Linked DNA regions of Homo sapiens: region 1 is linked to region 2. Evidence: promoter capture Hi-C in 16 types of primary human blood cells and fetal thymus (Javierre and others, 2016). All regions are on one chromosome and are shown on one strand. The core of a region is centred on a gene start or on the middle of the fragment in contact, and the rest is flanking DNA. Distances in the headings are between cores, read along the strand shown.

The links. Contacts are between HindIII fragments. The CHiCAGO score rates a contact against its expected background, and 5 or more counts as called.
Region 1: a fragment that was not itself captured here is called in contact with the fragment with the promoter of KIF2C in region 2 in 1 of 17 cell types (total CD8 T cells); the score reaches 5.0 in total CD8 T cells.

What each region holds. Positions count from the first base shown.
Region 1 is chr1:44,828,736-44,835,490 of GRCh38, forward strand. PTCH2 (patched 2) reads right to left here. Exons shown (of 22, transcript NM_003738.5): 3 at 3,417-3,606; 4 at 3,240-3,309; 5 at 2,971-3,062; 6 at 2,113-2,308; 7 at 1,174-1,295; 8 at 879-1,026; 9 at 667-798; 10 at 422-577; 11 at 247-339. Among named protein-coding and RNA genes, the nearest start is that of PTCH2, 11 kb to the right of the region's middle. The HindIII fragment of the contact is 7,207 bases long and covers 1-6,755 here.
Region 2 is chr1:44,735,675-44,742,115 of GRCh38, forward strand. KIF2C (kinesin family member 2C) reads left to right here and starts at 4,163. Exons shown (of 21, transcript NM_006845.4): 1 at 4,163-4,328; 2 at 5,239-5,333. The coding sequence starts at 4,259. RefSeq lists an enhancer at 3,814-3,983. The HindIII fragment of the contact is 10,096 bases long and covers 1-6,441 here.

The DNA.
Region 1 (6,755 bases), core at 2,070-4,569, 92 kb after region 2:
TCATAACACAGTGGCTAGCATTTATTGGGTACCATGTACGTATGATGGGCTGTTCTAAGCATTCAACTTGAGTTACCTCACTGATCCAAACAATAACCCTTAGGACACAGCACTATTATTTCCCCTGTTTACAGATGGGGACAAGAGGCACCGAGGTTCATTAGCAGCCCAAGGTCACTTGAACCAAGAGGCTCTTAACCAGTAAGCTGAGCTGCCTCAGATGAGCCCTGGGGGACAAGGCCCCACCTGGAGAGGGGTGCCAGGCAGAGCCTCTGTGAAGGCATGCGCCAGCAGGAATACGTCATCCACGCCGATTCCCAGAGCCAAGAAGGGCAGCACCTGGAGGGGCAGAGGAGCGGGCAGCTGAGGACCCGTGAAGCCTGGTGACTGGCACTGAGTCTGCCCTGCAGTCCTGGCGTACCTGGGTAGTGGCAGCATTGAAGGTGATGCCGAGCAGGGCACAGAGCCCAAGGCCTGAGGCCACCGCCAGGGCCACCAGCAGTACCCCGGCAAGGCCCACGGAACCCTGGGACTGGGCGCAGTCCCACCGCAGCATGGTCACACAGGCATAGGCCAGCTGTGGGGGGAAAGGGCAGTCTCAGGGGCTCCCAGGGTGGGCACTGGTTGGAGGTGGGGTGGGGGCAAGGTGCCAGGTGCAAGACCCACCATGAGCAGATAGCCTCCCACCACACGGGCAGCACTGACTTCAGAGAACGCATGCAGGATGTCATCCAGGGTGGTGGAGGAGAAGGCATGGATCTGCTGGGAAGCGTTCTCAGGCAGGGCCTCCTGGGCCAGCTGGAGAAACAGGGTGGATAGGAGGGGGCAGGAGGAGGGAATGGCCTCAGGGCACCCCCCTTGTCCTTGTCCATACCGACCTGCACAAAGCGCCGCTGCCAGGCTTGTAGCACTGTGCTGGCCTGCTCCTCACTCCAGCCAATGTCATGTGTCTGATAGTCACCCCGGAAATGCTCGTACAGCTGGCGGGGACTCATCAGCAAGAAGGTGCTCTGCAGGGCCTCTGCCCTGGTGGGGGTGTGGGAGAACCAGGGGTCAGAGCTGGCCCAAACACCTGGTGAGGGATGTGAAGGGCCTTTTGCCAGAGCTGCCTGGCATTACAGTATGGGTTCTCATGAACAGAGTCCCCTCACCAACTCCCAGAGGAGACCCTACCTCAGCAGCTCTCCTTGGGGGTCTCTGGCCATGCCTCCCAGCAGCAATTCCTCCTGCCAGTGCATGAATTTGTGGGAGAAGCCATGGCAGCCCCCACTCAGCTCGTGAGCCACATTGGGAGCCTGGAGGGGAACAGGAGGGGTTAATGCTCAAGGCCCTGGCCGTGGATAACTGAGTGTCCCTGGGCTTCCACCTCCAGGAACCACGCTGCCATGAAGCTCAGTAGGGCTGGAGTGTAGGTAACTATTCTGAGCCTCTTGACTGCTCTGCAGGAGTGAACAGCTAGTATCCCGCAGACAGGAAGCCCCAAGGGGAAGCAGAGGCCTGGAAGGGCTTCTGGGAGGAGCTGGTGTAACTGGCGGATTCTGAAAAAAGTACCACATTTGCAGGGCCACAAAGAAACCTGGGAAACCAGGTATGATATTCATGCTTACCTGCTGTGTTCTTAGTTTCCCTGTATTAGTCTATTTTGATAAAAAGTCCAGCCTTGGCCAGGCGCAGTGGCTCACGCCTGTAATCCCAGCACTTTGGGAGGCTAATAAAAATTAGCCGGGCATGGTGGTGGGCACCTGTAATCCCAGCTACTCAGGAGGCTAAGGCAGGAGAATTGCTTGAGCCGAGGTTGCAGTGAGCCAAGATCGAACTACTGCACTCCAGCCTGGGTGACAGAGTGAGACTCAAAAAAAAAAAAAAAAAGAAGTCCAGCCTTATCTAGGCTTAGAAAAGGAAAAAGGGATTCATATATACCACTTGAGGGCTCCGTAGGATAACTGAATGGGAATGGAACATTGGGGGCCTGGCACTGTGGGAGCAGGGTAATAATGGCCAGGAAGTGGGGGGTCAGGGCACAGAGCAGTCAGCTCCCCCAGAACACAGGAGTATGAGGAAGGGAAAGGGAAGGAAAACAGCCTTTCCCTGGCAGACCTGGTTGGAACCCACCTGCCTGCTGTGATGGTTGGGGGCACTAGGTGGGCAGTGGAGGTCATCAGGGTGCAGACAGGGCCGCCCCACGTAGGCCTGGCCCACCTGTGCCTTGTCTAGCAGCTCCCGGAAGCCCTCAAGGGAGGCAAAGGGACCCAGCTCCTCCAGCAGCTGCTCTGGATCCAGGTTGGTCCACTGGATATCCGGGCGGCCGCTGAGGGAAAAGCCTATAGTTGGTGAGGGTCAGGGACGAAAACCCAGGCTCCAAACTGCTGCTGGGGCGCCATGCTGTACCCCACCCTCCTCTTATCTGCCGATTTGTCCTTCCATATGGAGGGTGTGCAAGCCTCAGCTTCTCAGAACTGCCAGGCTGCATGGGCCCACCAGGGTGCTACAGTGAGCTGTAGAAGAGTACAAGGGGCTGAGACGAATATCAGGGCAGGGTTACCTAATACATAGAAAGGGCCCAGAAAGGCCCCACTGAGTTCCTTACCAAGCTGTGTGCTTGGTTCTAATATACAACCAGCAGGCACATGCCTGTAGCAGGTTTTCTTTCTGGCCTGGGCAATGGCTTAGCAAACACCTAGGTAATTTCCCCCAGCAAAGCCTCTTTGTGGGGATCTTTTTCTCCTTTGCTCAGATCTTACAGATCTTTGTGTTTAGTTTTGTGTAAATAAGTCAGGTCTTCCTTCCTTGAGAGGGAAAGAGAAGGAGGATGTGGAGAGAGCCTTGGGGAAGCCCATGCTCTCTGTTCCTGGCCTGGGAGGTAATTAGGACCTTGGTAAGGTTTTGATCATCCTCATTCCCCAGACCCCTCCTTTCTGCTGGGAGAGTCCCCAGCGGGAGATGAAGCAGGGCCCCAGGAGTGGCACTCACGGCAGGTAGGCGGAGCCCCCTTGGAGTTTGGCTCCCTCCCAGAAGCAGTCGAGGGGGGTGAGGATCACGCACGGAAACAGCTTCTCAATCATCTGCCAGGGATACCCCGGGCCACGTCAGTCCTGCCCCACAACCTTTGTAGGATGCCCTCTGCAATCCCCCTCCTTAGTTTTAAGGGGGCAGATTGCAGGCTGTGGGGCTTGCTCGGTCTCTGAGTCCTCCCACGCTACAGAAAAAGTTCTGCCTCTACTCCCTCTCAGGACACTTACCCGCTCAATCATTCCATTTTCAATAAGGGGAACTCCTGACTTGTAGCAGATTTTGTTCAAATCCCAGGACCTGCAATAGCCAGGGGCATAGGAGATCAGCAGAAGAAGGGGATTCCCACTCCAGAACCCCCACAGCACGCCTCGCCCCCAGCTGCTCAGGGGCTCAGCCAGACTCACTTCCCATAGAGTGATACTTGGACTTTACTGGCAGTGAGGGCTGCCTGGAGGTGGAGGCCAAGTGCTTCGGGTGTGAGGATGTTCTCTCCCTCCTGGCGTGCGGTCTGTATCAGCATCTGAGAGGTGTATGCAGCCTCCTCCCCCAGCTTCTCCTTGGTGTAATGCAGCTCCTGGCTCACCCGGCTGCCCACTGCCAGAGCAAACAGAGAAAGCTGGGGGGGAAAGGGCCTAGGCGGGTCAGAACTTGGGAAGGGGGCTTCTAACTCTGAGGCCTCCCCAGACAAGTGGGAGAGGTGCGGCAGAGAGGAGTCCCTGCCTTATCCCTGAGGGCCTGGTCATGGCCCAGGCCGACTCCCCAGGCTTCTGGGTCCTGGAGCTCTGCCAGGGAAGTGGAGAAGCCTCGGTTGTGTGGCTCTGCGGATTTCTTGTGTGGTCTAGGGCTTAAGCATGAACCAGGTTGGCTGGGTTTTGGGTGTAAACTTAAAAATGACAATCAGCATGAGCTGGCCGTGGGCTGTGGGGGTTGTAGGGGCATCTTGGTAAGGGAACCCTCGCTCAGTCCCTCTCTGTTCTGGTGGGGAGGACAAGGAGGGCCAATAGGGGCCAATAGGGAGGCTGCTGCTAGGAGGGTTTCCTAAAAGAACAGGTGTAGGGCTAGGGCTGGTTCTTAGTTCAGGTTGCTCTGGGCAGTGATTTATATCCACACACCTTTCTGCAAAGTGTCCTAAGGAGAGGGCAGGGATAGGAGTGTCTGATAATAATGGGTGATAATAATGGGCCCTGTGTTGGTGTGGGGGAGAGGGAGGATGGGACAGTCATTCAGTGTGCTGCTCCCACTCAGGCAGAAAGTGCATGGAATCAGCTCACGAACCCTGGCAGGGGTGAAATCAAAGTGGGCCAAGGGGAGGGAGGTGTCCAGATCCTTTTCACCGCCCTCACTGTCCAGACCACAGGGATTCCCGGCGCCAGGCCTGCCATAGTGTCCTGGATCTTAGCGCCCCTCCAGTCCTGCGTTATGCTGGCCACAGGCTCCTGCTCTGTAACTGGGACCTGGGGGAGGTGGGGACATTGTGAGGGGCTATCACCTAACTATGATGTGGGGAAGAGTGAGGGCCAAATCTACCTCTGGAGGCTTTGCGGATTTGGTCTGATCTCAGACCCTGCGCTGTTTCCACCTGTCTGGGGGTCTCCTCCTGTTAGTCTTTGCTGCCTGCTGGGACCCAAACGTACTGCTTCTCTGAGACTCAAGCCCCATCTGAGATCGTCATGTTTCCCAATCTCTTTTCCTTTTTTTTTTTTTTTTGAGACAGAGTCTTGCTCTATTGCCCAGGCTGGAGTGCAGTGGCCTGATCATAGCTCACTATAGCTTCGACTTCCTGGGCTCAGGTGATCCTCCCACCTCAGCCTCCCAAGTGGCTGGGACCACAGGCACCCGCCACCAGGCCTGGCTAATTTTTAAATTTTTTGTAGAGACGAGGTCTCATCACTATGTTGCCCAAGCTGGTCTTTTTTGTGGCTCACTGCAACGTCTGTCTCCCAGGTTCAAGCGATTCTCGTGCCTCAGCCTTCCGAGTAGCTGGGATTACAAGCACCTGCCACCATGGCCAGCTAATTTTTTGCATTTTTAGTACAGGTGGGGTTTCACGGCCTCCCAAAGTGCTGGGATTACAGGAGTGAGCCACCGCACCCGGCCCCAAGTTGGTCTTAAATTCCTGGGCTCAAGCGATCCTCCCACCCCAGCCTCCTAAAGTGCTGGGATTACAGGTGTGAGTCACTGCACCTGGCCCTCCAATCTCTTTTTCAAACCCATGTAATCTTCTCACTCACAAAAGCCCCAAATCCTTGGTAGCCCCCAACACATACTTACCCATATGCTCACATGTCCCCTCGTGCCCCAAAAGTCACATTCCTGGCCTTCACCTCATGAAAACAGTCTTCCTGTCCTGCTCCCCACACTGCCAGTTCCTTCCCTTTTTTTTTTTTTTGAGACTGAGTTTCGCTCTTATTGCCCAGGCTGGAGTGCAATGGTGCAATCTCGGCTCACTGCAACCTCTGCCTCCCGGGTTCAAGCGATTCTCCTGCCTCAGCCTCCCGAGTAGTTGGGATTACAGGTGCCTGCCACTACGCCTGGCTAATTTTTATATTATTAGTAGTAGAGATGGGGTTTCACCCTGTTCGCCAGGCTGATCTTGAACTGCTGACCTCAGGTGATCTGCCAGCCTCGGCCTCACAAAGTGCTGGGATTACAGGTGTGAGCCACCGTGCCCAGCCTCTCCTTCTCCGACTCTCCCCTACTCCCCACTCTTTTGCCAGGCCTGTACTGCAGTGTTTATTTCACCAAGATTAGGCCGAAGGCTGCCGCATGGAAGGGAAGAAGAGGACAGAGATAAGCTCTCCATAGTAAGTGGGTTTGCTGAGAGGAAGGAGGCATGGGAGGAGGAAGGAACCCAGAGAGATCTGATAAGAAAGCAAGAGAAAGAAACACGGATAATTTAAAATGGAGCATCAAAGAGAATAAAGACTCCTCAGGGGAGAAAATGGGGCAGAGAAAAAGATAAACCTTAGTTGACAAAGATAGATATGGACAGGTGAACTGGGATGCATTGTGGTGCAGAAAGGAAGAGTCGATAATGCTTAGTCTGTGCCTTGGGCTCATTAGTTATTCTCTCTGGGTCTCCAGCTCCTCATCTGTCAAACAGAAACAGTGACTACCTTGGTAGAATTAGAATAAATGCAGGCAAAGTACTTAGGAAATTGCATGGCACACAGTAGGTACAGATGTGGAGTTATTTTTCAATAGTTGCTGGTAGAGAAATGAAGTGACAGAAAAATGAGAAGGAACTGAAGGAAAGACTGCAGGTGACAGGGGAGGAAATAGGACAGAGGAGGGAGAATATCAAGATTGATACATGAAAAAACAACTTGTCTCTTTTTTTTGAGACAGGGTCTCGCTTTGTCACCCAGGCTGGAGTGCAGTGGTGCAATCACAGCTCACCGCAGCCTTGACCTCCCGGCTCAAGCAATCCTCTCAAGTAGCTGGAACTACAGGTGTGTGCCACCATGCCCAGTTAATGTTTGTATTTTTTGTAGAGACAGGGTCTCCCTATGTTGCCCAGGCTGGTCTCGAACTCCTGGGCTCAAGTGATCCTCCCACCTCAGCCTCTGAAAGTGCTGGGATTACAGGCATGAGTCACTGTGCTCGGCCAAACTTTTATGTCTTTACCAACGGGAAAATATAACTGGTTAACCAATATGGAAAAAGACTCTACCTTATAAATAATAATGTAAATGCAAATACAAACATCAATAAGTTACTATCTAACAATTTAGCAAAAATTT
Region 2 (6,441 bases), core at 2,913-5,412:
TAGAGACAGCGTTTCACTATGTTGGCCAGACTGGTCTTGAACTCCTGGCCTCAAGTTATTCTCCTGCCTCAGCCTCCCAAAGTGCTGGGATTACAGGTGTGAATCACCACAGCTGGCCCACCTTCTTTTTTTTTTTTTTGAAACAGGGTCTCATTCTGTTCCCCAGGCTCAAGCGCAGCTGCACGATCATAGCACACTGCGGCCTCGAACTCCCCAGGCCCAGGTGATCCTCCCACCTCAGCCTCCTGAGTAGCCAGGACTACAGGCATGTGCCACCACACCCAGCTAATTTTTGTATTTTTTGCAGAGATGGGGGTCTCACTGTGTCACCCAGGGTGGTCTGGATCTACTGAGCTCAAGCAATCTGCCTGTCTTGGCCTCCCAAAGTGTTGGGATTACAGGTATGAGCCACTGCATCCAACTTAGTCCATTTTCTGTTGCTATAACAAAATACTGGAGACTGGGTAATTTATAATGAACATAAATTTATTTCATTCATGGTTCTGGAGGCTGAGAAGTCCAAGAGCATGGTGCTTGGATCTTGTGAGGGCCTTTTTGCTGCATTATAACATGGCAGAGAGCAATAACATAGTGACAGGGCAAGAGCGTGTCAGCTCAAGTCTCTCTTCTTCTTCTTATAAAGCTACCAATTCCATCACAGGGCCCCATCCTGATGACTTTATTAATCCTAATTACCTCCCAAAGGCCCCACCTCCAAATGCCATCAATATGTGAATTGGGGGATTAAGTTTCCAGCACATAAAATTTGGGGGACTCATTCAAACCACAGCATATCCCTAAACAATATTCCATCTATTCTTGTCTCTCTAGTCTGGTTCTCACCCTCAATAGTTCACCAAGACTGCACAAGGTCAGCAATGACTTAGGTGCTAATAAATCCAAAGGATACTAGAATGTCCTCATCTTATTTGGCCTCTTGAGTAGCTCTTCAGAGTTACTTTCACCTTCTTCATTCCATCCCTTGACTTCTAAGGAACTCCCCCCAACTCTTTTGTTTTCTTCATCCCTTCAAACCACCCTAATCCCATCTCCTTTGCTGGCTCCTCCTCCCCTGCCCTACCTCAAAATATTGGCAAGTCCCATGGCTCAATTATACATGTTCCTCTCATCTCCATCTATATTCTTTTCCTAGATAGTATTCAGCTCATGACTCCAAATACCATCTACATAATGCAGACTGCCAAATCTCAATCTCTTGCTTTGACCTCTACCTTAGCTCCCAGTTTGTATATCCAACTGCTCAGTTGACACCTACACTCAGATGTCTTGTAGACATCTCAAATTCAAAATGAACAAAATGAAACCCTGGACTTAACCCCCAACTCATTCCTTCACAATCCCACTTTCCCTTTTCAGGACATGGTCCATCATCCAGCCAGGTGCTCTAGCCAGAAACCAGGAGTCATCCATGACCACCCCTGTCATTCACATCCAACTCATCAGCAAAACCCATTCACTTCACTTCCCAAACATGGGGTATCTTGAATCAGTTCTTTCAGCCATACTTCCAATCCAGTATCACTACCCTGGCCTATGCCAGCATAATCTCTTGCCTACTAAGCGGTCTCTGCCTTCTGTCTTGCCCCTTTCAAATCTACTCTCCACACAATAGCAAGTTTGACTGACATAAAAGTAAAATGTAGGCTGGGCGCAGTGGCTCACACCTGTAATCCCAGCACTTTAGGAGGCCGAGGTGGGCGGATCACCTGAGGTCGGGAGTTCACGACCAGCCTGACCAACATGGTGAAACCCCGTCTCTACTAAAAATACAAAATTAGCCGGGCATGATGGTGCATCTCTGTAATCCCAGTTACTTTGGAGGCTGAGGCAGGAGAATTGCTTGAACCTGGGAGGCAGAGGTTGTGGTGAGCCGAGATCGCACCATTGCACTCCAGCCTGGGCAACAAGAGTGAAATTCTGTCTCAAAAAAAAAAAAAAAAAAAAGTAAAATGTAAATCAGATCATGTTAGTCCCCTGCTTAAAACTTTTCAATGACTTCTCATTAGCATAAAAGCCAAAATTATTACTACAGGCCACAAGATGCTCTATGATTTTGCCCCTCCCCACCTCTTCAACTTCTTCTGATGCTCCTCTCCCCCACTGCCTTCCAGTCATCAGTTCTTCAAACAAGACCTTTCCTGGCCAGGCACAGTGGTTCATGCCTGTAATACCAGCATTTTGGGAGGCTGAGGCAGGCAGATCGTCAAGAACAGGAGGCCGGGCTTGGTGGTTCACACATGTAATCCTAGCACTTTGGGAGGTTAAGGAGGGAGGATCTTTGAGCCCAGGAGTTCAAGACCAGCCTGGGCAACATAGCAAGACACTGTCTCTAATTAAAAAAAAAAAAAACCTCTCCCTTTCCCCCTCCCCCTCTCCCCGGTCTCCCTCTGATGCCAAGCCGAGGCTGAACTGTACTGCCGCCATCTCGACTCACTGCAGCCTCCCTGCCTGATTCTCCTGCCTCAGCCTGCCGAGTGCCTGGGATTGCAGGCGCGCGCCGCCGCACCTGACTGGTTTTCGTATTTTTTGGTGGAGATGGGGTTTCACCGTGCTGGCCGGGCTGGTCTCCAGCTCCTGACCGCGAGTGATCTGCCAGCCCTGGCCTCCCGAGGTGCCGGGATTGCAGACGGAGTCTCGCTCACTCAGTGCTCAATGTTGCCCAGGCTGGAGTGCGGTGGCGTGATCTCGGCTCGCTACAACCTCCACCTCCCAGCCGCCTGCCTTGGCCTCCCAAAGTGCCGAGATTGCAGCCTCTGCTCGGCCGCCACCCGGTCTAGGAAGTGAGGAGCGTCTCTTCCCGGCCGCCCATCGTCTGGGATGTGGGGAGCGCCTCTGCCCCGCCGCGACCCCGTCTGGGAACTGAGGAGTGTCTCTGCCCCGCCGCCACCCTGTCTGGGAGGTGAGGATCGTCTCTGACTGGCCGCCCCGTCTGAGAAGTGAGGAGCCACTCTGCCCGGCAGCCGCCCCGTCCGGGAGATGAGGAGCGTCTCCTCCCGGCAGCCGCCCCGTCCAGGAGGTGGGGGGAAAGCCCCCGACCGGCCAGCCGCCCCGTCTGGGAGGTGGGGGGCAGCCCCCTCCCAGCCGCCGCCCTGTCTGGGAGGTGGGGGGGGGGGGCGCCTCTGCCCGGCTGCCCCATTTGGGAAGTGAGGAGCCCCTCTGCCCCGCCGCCACCCCATCTGGGAGGTGTACCCAATAGCTCATTGAGAACGGGCCATGATGACGATGGCGGTTTTGTCGAATAGAAAAGGGGGAAATGTGGGGAAAAGAAAGAGAGATCAGATTGTTACTGTGTCTGTGTAGAAAGAAGTAGACATAGGAGACTCCATTTTGTTCTGTACTAAGAAAAATTCTTTTGCCTTGGGATGCTGTTAATCTATAACCTTACCCCCAACCCCGTGCTCTCTGAAACATGTGCTGTGTCCACTAAGGGTTAAATGGAAAAAAAAAAAAAGGAGGACAGGAACTATGTGTCTAGTTCATTATCTCCATTTCCTGGTACCATGCCTAGCAGGTGGTAGACTTCACTCAATAAATATCTGGTGAATCAGTGTCTTTCTGGAAATTTATACATAACTCCTTGAATGAGGCAACATGCTTCTGCACTATTTAATAAGAAAAACTAAGTCAAGTTTCTAATCTGTGGTTTTGTTTTGCTTTGAGAACAGGGTCTTGGCTATGTTGCCCTGTCTGGTCTCGAACTTCTGATCTCGAGCGATCACTCCCACCTCTCCCTTCCTAAGTGTTGGGATTAACAGGAGTGAGCCACCGCGCCCGGCCAAGTCTCCAACTTGCTCGAGGTCACTGAACTTGCAATTGAAGAAGCTACGATTCGAACCCATGTCTGTAGGATCCCAGAGCCCTCATTGTCAAATACATACTGAAGTTTCCCAGTTTTCGGGAACCCCGCAGTACAAGGTGACCGAGGACAATACCAGAAATGGGAGCCCCAGACCCCACGTAGCGGCGAAGTTCCCAGAAGGCACAGCGCTCGGGGGTGTGGCCAGACGCATGGGCGGTGCCAAGCGTAGGAAGATGGTTGGGAACTGCGTCTCCCCCAAGGCTCCGCAGGGCGCCGCTGACTGGCGGAAGCGAGGGCGGGGACAGCGGAATGACGTTTTAAGGACGCTTGCGCGCGGGATTTAAACTGCGGCGGTTTACGCGGCGTTAAGACTTCGTAGGGTTAGCGAAATTGAGGTTTCTTGGTATTGCGCGTTTCTCTTCCTTGCTGACTCTCCGAATGGCCATGGACTCGTCGCTTCAGGCCCGCCTGTTTCCCGGTCTCGCTATCAAGATCCAACGCAGTAATGGTGAGGAGCGGGGTCCCTAGGTCAAGGGGACTCGTGAGCGGTGAGACGACTGAAATTACTGCCCGTCCCCGGACACACAGATGGGCTTTCACTCTCTTTCTCTCCCTCCCTCCTTTTCACACGCACTCACTCCGGGTCTCTGCACTGGCAGTCATTCTTGCCTACACAGGGGTGAGAGTCCCTGCGCTGTACGTGGTCCCTTTCGCAGTCCTCTGGGAGTGGGCGGACCTTCTCCAAGGCTGGTAGACCTCCCAGGGAAGTTGGGACTTCTAAATTCACTTCCCTTCCAAAATTCTCCCCTGAAAATGCCCTGCTCTTATGGGGACCTCGGTCTCCTGGCCCCTTTACTCTCGAATAAATATTGCGCAGTTGCGGTATGTCAGGTAAACGGGACAGACAAGAACCCTGCGCTTGAGGAGCTTGTAGTCGTTCTCTCTTTTGCTTAAGCAGGTACCGCAGTTCTGGCAGGTCTGATACCCGTGTCATTAGGGAAATGGACAGATATGACCGCCAGAAATGAGTTAGGAAAACCCCAAAAGGGCCAGATCCTCAATGCTATGTTGAGGAAAAGTTCATCTAAGGGTTGTGGGGAATCCTGTGCTCAAACATACCTTTTGTATGTTCTCTTTTGTAGGCTCTATCTCTCTTTTTTTGTAGGCTCTCTTGAGTAGGGGTGAATCCTTATCCCATGCAGCTCAGTTTAAAAACCTGTCCCCAGCCCACCTCACTGTGGATATTCTAAAGGTGAAGCCCAGGAGATTTATTTGTTTCTCTTAGTTTTTTTTTTTTTTTTTTTTAAGGTAGCTGCCTGTTCCTTCAGGTTAACTCCACTTTGGGAATCTCTGTGGAATCCTAAAAGTGAAGCTCTCAGGAAAGAGATGGGTAACTCTGGTTTTTTCATACTTTATAGGTTTAATTCACAGTGCCAATGTAAGGACTGTGAACTTGGAGAAATCCTGTGTTTCAGTGGAATGGGCAGAAGGAGGTGCCACAAAGGGCAAAGAGGTAGGTTCTATGAGAATTCCTCTACCACATTTAATGTCTTCCTACATAAAGGATCTGTGCAGAAGTGGAATCTGTGAGAGCCTAGTTTCTGATGCTGTGCTCTTCTCACTCACGCCTGTAATCCCAGAACTTTGGGAGGCTGAGACGGGCAGATCACCTGATGTCAGGAGTTCGAGACCATCCTGGCCAACATGGCGAAACCTGTCTCTACTGAAAATACAAAAATTAGCCAGTCGTGGTAGTGCATGCCTGTAATCCCAACTACTTGGGAGCCTGAGGCAGGAGAACTGCTTGAACCTGGGAGGCGGAGGTTGCAGTGAGCCGAAACTGTGCCGCTGCACTCCAGCCTGGGTGACAGTGAGAATCTGTCTCAAAAAAAAAAAAAAAAAAAAATTGGCTGGGTGCGGTGGCTCTTGCCTCTAATCCCGACACTTTGAGAGGCCTGGTCTGGAGGATTGCTTGAGCTCAGGAGTTCGAGACCAGCCTGGGAAAAATGTTGAGACCTTGTCTCTACAAAAAAATTAAAAATTATCAGGGTGTGGTGGCTCACGCCTGTGGTTCCAGCTACTCGGGAAGCTGAGGTGGGAGGATTGATTTAGCCTGGGAGGTTGAGGCTGCACTGAACCATGATCGAGCCACTGCACTCTGGCCTGGGCGACAGAGTGAGACCTTTCCTCAAAAAATAAAAATGGTCTTCTTGGCTGGGCACAGTGGCTCACATGTATAATCCCAGCACTTTGGGAGGCCGAGGTGGGCAGATCGCTTTGAGCTCAGCAGTTCAAGACCAGGCTGGGCAACATGACAAAACCTCATTTCTACAAAAAATACAAAAAACATTAGCCGGGCATGGTGGTGCATGCCTGTGGTCCCAGCTGCTCTGGAGGCTGAGGCTGGAGAATTGCTGGAGTCTGGGAAAGCACAGGTTTCAGTGAGCTGAAATTGCACCACTGCTCTCCAGCCTCCTGGGCAACAGAATGAGGACTTGTCTCAAAAAAAAAAAAAAAAAAAAAAAGAATGGTCCCCTTCCAGATGCATTGGGATTTTATTTAGTCAGGTCCATTCTAAATTGAAGCAATCAATAATTTTCTGGGTTTTTTTTGTTTGTTTG